Regions from separate parts of the Homo sapiens genome. Here region 1 is linked to region 2. The links are contacts of gene promoters, found by promoter capture Hi-C in human tissues and cell types (Jung and others, 2019). All regions are on one chromosome and are shown on one strand. Each heading gives the region's core, a stretch centred on a gene start or on the middle of the fragment in contact. The rest is flanking DNA. Distances are from core to core; before and after follow the strand shown.

Region 1 (3,988 bases), core at 415-2,914, 130 kb before region 2:
CTACCCTGCCAAAGAAGACCTGAAAATCAAAATAACAGTATCTGCTAAAATAAACAACATAAGGAAGATTCAATAGCCATAACAAGTGGGAGGATTCTAATACCATAATCTAAACAAGATTATAAAATAAATATGTTTAAAATTCACAACAACACAAAAGAAGAAACTAGAGGACTTGTTCCTGGCCTTGAGCAGCTCTTAGGGAAGTGGCAAGTGCAACAGGCATGGAGCAGCCCACTCTTGCAACGATCCTCTAGGATCCTAACTATGGGAGACCCCATGACCTGCACAGACCTTTGAGTTGCAAGGGAGAACTGCCCAATGAGTTGCCAGAGACAGAATGCCAGTCTGCACAGAGCCCAGAGGGTCTGGCGCAGTAATGGCTGCAATGGGGCATGGCCATAGGTGCCTGTTGCGGGAAGTCAGGGACCCCGAACGGAGGGACCGGCTGAAGCCATGGGAGAAGAATGTGGATTGTGAAGATTTCATGGACATTTATTAGTTCTCCAAATTAATACTTTTATAATTTCTTATGCCTGTCTTTACTGCAATCTCTAAACATAAATTGTGAAGATTTCATGGACACTTATCACTTCCCCAATAAATACGCTTGTGATTTCCTATGCCTGTCTTTACTTTAATCTCTTAATCCTGTCATCTCGTAAGCTGAGGAGGATGTATGTCGCCTCAGGACCCTGTGATGATTGCGTTAACTGCACAAATTGTAGAGCATGTGTGTTTGAACAATATGAAATCTGGGATCCTTGAAAAAAGAACAGAATAACAGCAACGTTCAGGGAACAAGAGAGATCACCTTAAACTCTGACTGCCGGTGAGCCGGGTGGAACAGAGCCATATTTCTCTTCTTTCAAAAGCTAATGGGAGAAATATCACTGAATTCTTTTTCTCAGCAAGGAACATCCCTGAGAAAGAGAATGTGCCCTTGAAGGTGGGTCTCTAAAATGGCCCCCTTGGGTGTGGCCGTCTTCTATGGTCGAGACTGTAGGGGTGAAATAAGCCCCAGTCTCCCATAGCGCTCCCAGGCTTACTAGGAAGAGGAAATTCCCATCTAATAAATTTTGGTCAGACCGGTTGCTCTCAAACCCTGTCTACTGATAAGATGTTATCAATGACAATGGTGCCCAAAACTTCATTAGCAATTTTAATTTTGCCTGCGGTCCTGCGGTCCTATGATCTCGCCCTGCCTCCATTTGCCTTGTGATATTCTATTACCTTGTGAAGCACGTGATTTTTGTGACCCACACCCTATTTGTACACTCCCTCCCCTTTTGAAAGTCCCTAATAAAAACTTGCTGGTTTTGCAGCTTGTGGGACATCACGGAACCCACCGACATGTGATGTCTCCCCCGGACGCCCAGCTTTAAAATTTCCCTCTTTTGTACTCTGTCCCTTTATTTCCCAACCCAGCCGACACTTAGGGAAAACAGAAAAGAAACTACGTGACTATTGGGGCAGGTTCCCTGATAGGTGCCCATCACCCAAATCTTGATATACTCCTCTAGGTGGCTTTAGCCTTAGTTCGCTGCCAGAAGTAGAAAGAGCAGGGCTATCTTTCCCACAAGACTGGGCCAACCTGATCTGAATGCCACCCTGTCTGCCAGCCTCTCAAAGGGTCCTGTCTGTCTCACTAGCTTGCAACACAGCCTCAGCTGCCCTGCCGAAATGCTCCCCAACAGCCACCCCATAGGTCTTTTGCCAACAGCCTCTGCCTTCCTGTCAGAGCGCTTTTGCAAGCACACACCCACCCACAGCCAATACCTACTGGTGTGCACTTGCCTGCAGCCTCCCCTGCCAGTGCGCACTTGCCCATGGTTACCCCCACCACAAGTGCACTCTCCCAAAGCACCGCCCCACGCCCCCCCAGAGCACTTTCTCGGGCAGTCACCATCGGAAAGTTGTTGCCAGCAGTCTGGGAACATCTCGGCTCCTCCAGTGCAGCAGATGCTTGACCTCAAGGGACCAGAAATCAAAGCCACTGGCCTGTTCAGTGCACCCCCAGGGTTAGAGCACACAGCCCAGGGGTGCTGAGCTGAGCTCTGGCCCTGAAAGCACACAGAAACCAAGCCAATTGACTAATCCCAACTTATACCACAGTAAAATCCTCAATGGCATCAAATAATATAAAAGCAAAAGGCCCCATCCAAAGTACAGCAACTTCAAAGATTAAAGGAACATCTGCCCACACAGGTAAGAAAAAAACAGTGTAAGAATTCTGGCAATTCTAAAAGCCAGAATGTCTTCTTATTTTCAAATAACCACACTAGCTCCCCAGCAATCGTTCTTAACCAAACTGAAATGGCTAAAATGACAGAATTCAGAAGCTGGAAGGCAAGGAAGCTCGACAAGATATAGAAGAAGGCTGAAGCCCCACCCATGGAAACCAGTAAAATGGTGGTTTGATCCATGATTGGATCTGACACAAACATTTTAAGTAAGAACAAAACTGAACTTCTGGAAACAAAAATTTCATGATAGGAATTTCATAATGCAATTGGAAGCATTAATAACATAACTGAGGAAAAAAATCTCAGAGCTCAAAGACTACTCCTTTGAATCATCACAGGCAAACAGAAATAAAGAAAAAAGAATTAAAAAAAAAAACTTCAAGAAATATGGGATTATGTAAACAAAACGAACCTAACACCCATCAGCATTCCAGAAAGAGAAGGAGAGAGAGCAAGCAACTTGGAAGGCATATTTGTGGATATTTTCCACGAAAATTTCTCCAACCTCACTAGGCAGGTCAATAAGCAAATTCAGGAAACTCAGAGAACCCCAGTGAGATACTATTCAAGATGACCACCCCCAAGACACATAGTCATCAGATTCTCCAAGGTCAACAGGAAAGAAAAAATCTTAAAAGGAAGCTAGAAAGAAAGAGCAGGTCACATATAAAAAGAACTCCATCAGGCTAACAGCAGACCTTTCAGCAGAAACCTTACAAGCCAGAAAAGATTGGGGACCTATAATCAGCATGCTTAAAGAAATTCAAACCAAGTATTTCATATCCAGCCAAGCTAAGCTTCATAAGCAAAGGAAAAACAAAATTATTTTCAGAGAAGCAAACGCTCAGGGAATTCATTACCATGAGACCTGACTTACAAGGGGTCCTCAATGGAGTGCTAAAAAAGGAAGCAAAAGACCATTACCTGCCTCCACAAAAACACACTAAAATACATCTCCCACTGACACTATGATGCAACTATACAATCAAGTCTACGTAACAACCAGCTAGCAACATGGCGACAGAATCAAATCCTCACATATCAATACTGACCTTGAACATAAACGGGCTAAACACCCCACTTAAAAAGCACAGAGTGGCAAGCTGGATAAAGAACCAAGACCCAACTATATGCTGTCAAGAGACCCAACTCACATGCAGTGACACCCACATGCTCAAAGTAATAGAATGGAGATAAAGATCTATCCAGCAAACAGAAAACAAAAAAAGAGCAGGAGTTGCTCTTCTTATTTCAGACAAAACAGACTTTAAACCAACAATGATCAAAAGGATAAAGAAAGGCATTACATAATGATAAAGGGTTCAATTCAACAAGAAGATTTAACTATCCTAAATATAATGCACCCAGCATTGGAGCACCCAGTCATAAAACAAGTTCTTAGAGACCTACAGAGTTTTAGACAACCACAAAATAATAGTGGGAGACTTCAACACCCCACTGACAGTGTTAGACAAATCACTGAGGCAGAAAACTAACAAAAATAGTTGGGACCTAAACTCGACACCTGACCAAATGGACCTAGGAGACTCTACAGAGTACTCCACTCAACAAAAGCAAAACACATTCTTCTCATCTGCACACAGCACACACTCTAAGATCAACCACACACTCAGCTGTAAAGCAATTCTCAACAAATTCAAGAAAACCGAAATCATACCAACCACACTCTCAGGCCACAGTGCAATAAAAATAGAAATTATTACCAAGAAGATCTCTCAAAA
Region 2 (4,567 bases), core at 569-3,068:
CCTGCTGCACAGCTCCTACTGGTTGTCATTTTAGAAAATATAGGGAGACACTGGAACTCCGAGGCAGTAGGATTGAAACGTTTGCTTCTTTTCTTTTTTTTTTTTTTGAGACGGCATCTAGCTCTGTCACCCAGGCTGGAGTGCAGTGGTGCGATCTCGGCTTACTGCAACCTCCGCCTCCCGGGTTCAAACGATTCTCCTGCCTCAGCCTCCTGAGTAGCTGGGATTACAGGCAGCTGCCACCACGCCCAGCTACTTTTTGTATTTTTAGTAGAGATGGGGTTTCACTGTGTTGGCCAGGCAGGTCTCGATCTCCTGATCTTGTGATCCGCCCGCCTCGGCCTCCCAAAGTGCTGGGATTACAGGCATGAGCCACCGTTAATTACTGTTTGTTGTGTTTCCCACTAACTTCTCTGACAATTCTATTTCAACCTACATTCTCCAATCACTGTAATTAGATATTTGAGAATTGTGTTGCATTTCAATCACGGTAACAATAATGGTAGTATTTTATTAATAAATTCAAGTAAAAACTGAAGATGACAATGATAGTGTATGATACATGACATCAACTTTGCATCACCTAAAGATCCAACTTTTCTGTTATGAATCTAGATTTCTTGGGGAAATCCAGATTGTATATTGGACATAGGAATTAAGATTACTGGACTTGAACTTTTTTGTAACTAACAACTTTATTGAGATATAATTCGGGTACCAACTCATACCTGAACAGCTTTTTAGACTTTTTTTCTAGCCCTTTTTTCTCTGTCCTTTCGGTTTTCTTTTAAAAAGGTCCATACTATTCAAGAAACACAACTTTTAAAGTCCACAATAATTCTCATTAGATTTTAATATTTATCTCCCCCCAAGCTTTACTGAAATACTAATGATATTCATTTTTTTAACCACTTTTCATCGTAAGAGAAATACAAATTTTCCTATTGATTCTTATGCACAAAAATCAAGTTTTTGTGGTACTGCTATACATTAGTAGTATGTTCAGCCAGTTTCCAAAGAAATTAGTCAAGATCCCAACATGCAACTTGTATACCACACTACCTTGGAATTCGGCGGCACAAACAACTATTCCTTGTACAAAACCTCCCTGAAAACGACTAAATGGAAAAGTGGATGGCTTGAAACAAGGAATGTTTGGTTTTTTAAAAAGCATTTTTCACAATTTAGTCGAGGTGTGGGGAGGGTTTCCCCACTTGTGGCTCTGCACAGCGTGCGCGCGCGTCTGTCCTGGGGTCCCCTCCCTGCGGGGACGAGGCCGGGGTCCCCGCGCGAGCCCAGCGGACCTGGGCAGTGCGGGGGTCCGACCGCCCGCCACAGGGGGACAGGGACCGCAGCCGCCAAATCCGCGGGGCCGGGGAACGAGGAGACTTTCCTTTCCGCGTTAGCCGGGGCCACCCCCGCCAGAGGGAAAGCACCAAAGGAAAAACCAGGACAGGGACTCTGGGGGCCGGAGGAGCGGCCTCCTGCAGGCACCAGCGGAGGGGCGCGGGGGTGGGGGAAGGGATCAGGGCTCCGCGCTCCGTCCGCCCCACGACCCCGGCCCGGCGCCCCTCCCCTCGGAACCCCCACTTAGTGCCCGGCCCCCGCCCCGCCCCGCGCGGCCCCCGGCCTCAGCCCCGCGCGCCCCGACGCCCCGCCTGCGCCGCGGGCCCGAGTAGTGGACGGGGGGCGGCCCGCTCGGCTCCTCCGCACCCGCTCCCCGCTCGGGCCGAGGCGCCGCGGCCGCGCGCCCCTCCTGGAGGAGGAGGAGGAAGGAGGCGGGAGGAGGAGTTGCCGAGAGGAGAAGGCGAGCGCGGCAGTCGCGCCGGCGCTGGGCGAGGAAGCGGAGCCGGGCCGCCTCCGGGTAAGCGTCCGGGGAGCTCGGGCGGGAGGCAGGGGCAGGGCTTCGCCGTCCGCCTCCGGGTCGCCCGCGGTCCGGGACACGGCTGGTTTTCGCCTCGGAGTGCAGGGGGCGGATCCGGCGCGGGCCGGGCCAGGGAGGCCGCCGGGCGCGGGGCTGCAGCGACGGGTCTGGGTCAGCGCGAGGCCCTGCGCCGTCTCGGCGGGTGCGCGGGCGGGGGCCAGGGCCGGGGAACGGGGGCCGGGGCCAGTCCCGGGAGCGGGGACGCGGAAACCGGGAAGCCGGGGCCGGGGCGCGGCGGCCCCTGAAGGGCCGAGGCCTGCGCGGCCGCGGACGGCTCTTCTCGACCCCTCGGCCTCTTCGGCCGCGGCGCGCCGGCCTGGGCCGCCGCCTTTGTTGCCCGCAGCTCGCCGGGGAGAGGCCGGGGCTCCGCGAGGCCTGGGCAGCGGCGCGGGGCCTGCGCGGCTCTGCGCCCCGGCCGGGTCCCTCCTCGGACCTCCGCGGGCTCGGGCTCGGGCTCGGGGTCGGGGCGCGGCGAGGCCGCAGGCGCGAGGGCGGGCCTGGGGCGCGGCGCTGGGACTCGGGGACGCCCCCGCCCCACCGCGAGGTCGCGCCGGCGCTGGTGGAGGTGCAGGCCGGGGCTGCTCTGCGGCTGAAGGTGCCGCCGGCCGGCTGCGCACTCACCCGGGTGTAGGGACCGGACGATTGTGGAATTTAAACCGCTCCTGGGACCGACACGGGCCTGAATTTTCAGTTTGCTTCGGGAGTTGGCAACTTCAGGTACACCCTTGTGGCTCACGGAGCAGAATTATGGACGTTTCTCAGGGGCAGATCCTGGCACAAAACTTGGGATATGTGCAGTAGTGTGTGTGCCAACTTAACGTTCAGTTGGAATGTGAAATTGGGGTTCCCATCCCCACTGTTTGGAATGAAGGGCCAGGTGGGAATATGTGGCGGGACTCAGTCTTCCGGTAGCAAAATAAATAATGTTGAATTCATTTCAACAAATGTTTCTGCAACGTCTGCCCGGATAAGGCAGCATGCACTGTGCATGAGGACAGAGAACACAGTAATGACAGAAATAACGTGAATTACACACTGAACGTCTCCCAGAGACATTTTAAATTTACTGTGTTCCTTGGGATAAAGATACATTTGGAATCAAACAAAAGTAAACGTTCTACTTCAAGATAAAATATCTGACATCTTCTCAACCACTGAAGGTAGCAATTTATCTTGACTTGTTTTTAACCAACTACCACAACATTAAATCCATTTAGCTTACTTGAATGAACGAATCTTAATTGTAATATTTAATGCTGTGGACAGCCTTACTTAAAAACACGAATGGCATTGCTCACCAGGTTTCACAAAAACCGGAAAAAAAGTCTGTAATACTTTTCCGTGGGCTTTCTAATTTCTCCTCCTAGTGGGTTTTGTGCACGCGTGGATATGGTAAGGTCTAGGATCCATTCAGCTCTAAATTAAATATGTGGCCTTAACCCTTTGGTTCAAACACCCTCCCTAAGCCTGCCTTGGTGCCTTGGAGGAACCTGGTTCGTGGACAGTGGATTTGATAAGGATTCCTAGAAGAACTTCTATCTGGAGTTTGGCCAGGGCTTTCCGCTTGTGCCTGGGTAAGGGTCAGCCAGGTATTCACCCGAATCTATACTTTTTTAGAACTCCATTCAGCATCTCTTTTGAAACACTGTTTCTCTCTTACCTTTATCGTTATCTTCTAAATTACCCTCTAAATTGGTAGTCTTGCCCCTTTCTCTTCAGCAGGGCCTCCCACCCAAGCGCACACCCTCGGGTCATCCCATGACCCCCTCTCTTGGTGGGCCCCCCACCCCGCAGGGAGTGGCAGGGAAGGAATTTGAGAGCCATTGACTGGGCGTAGGGTGGAAAATGGTGCTGTACTGACTGGGTTTCTAGTCATTTTGCCTTCCAGTGTTTTTCTTCATTCTTGCATTAGAACTGGAAAAGGTGTTCTTTTAATGGCCCCCCTTTTTTTAGGAAACAGAAAGCAAGTATCTTCTTTTTTGTTTTTCCTCTGTCACCCAGGGTGGAGTGCAGTGGTGCAATCATGGCTCACTGCAGCCTTGAACTCCTGGGCTCAAGTGATCCACCTCCCTCAGCCTCCTGAGTAGCTTGGACCACAGACATGTGCCACCACACCTGGCTGATTGTTTTTTGGAGAGGTGGGGTCTTGCTGTGTTGCCGAGGCTGGTCTCAAACTCTAGGCCTCAAGATCCTCTCACCTCAGCCTCCCAAAGCCCTGGGATTACAGGCACGAACCACCACACCCAGCCTGCAAGTGTCCTCTTAAGCCTTCTTGTGTAACTACACTCCTTAGAGAAAAATCTTGCTAGTTTTCTCCATTATGGCCAGTTTTCAGGAAACTTTTGGGTTATTGATCATATCTTTTATTTTGCTCATAGAGGTGTGATCTTATTTAAAAGTCCAAACATATAGATGGTCCCCAATTTTGGACTTTTTGACTTTTTGATGGAGCAAAAACGATACACATTTAGTATGCACTTCGACTTACATCCAGATAAACCCACTGTGAGTTTTGACTTTAAGATATTTTCAATTTATCATGGGCTTATTGGGACTCAATTATTGTTATTCTCTTAAAAATATGCACTCGTGACCTCTTCCAATTCTGGAAATTATATTTACATCTGTGGTGCCGAAGTACTT

What was found. Contacts are between HindIII fragments. The study calls those that stand out against the background at their distance.
Region 1: a fragment that was not itself captured here is called in contact with the fragment with the promoter of SOCS6 in region 2 in 1 of the 25 tissues and cell types used here (IMR-90 fibroblasts).

The regions. Positions count from the first base shown.
Region 1 is chr18:70,155,306-70,159,293 of GRCh38, forward strand. The region is part of intron 14 of RTTN (rotatin); the gene reads right to left. Among named protein-coding and RNA genes, the nearest start is that of RTTN, 48 kb to the right of the region's middle. The HindIII fragment of the contact is 9,830 bases long and covers 1-3,988 here.
Region 2 is chr18:70,287,227-70,291,793 of GRCh38, forward strand. It overlaps SOCS6 (suppressor of cytokine signaling 6), which reads left to right and starts at 1,819. Exons shown (of 2, transcript NM_004232.4): 1 at 1,819-1,864. RefSeq lists a silencer at 1,655-2,554. The HindIII fragment of the contact is 14,867 bases long and covers 1-4,567 here.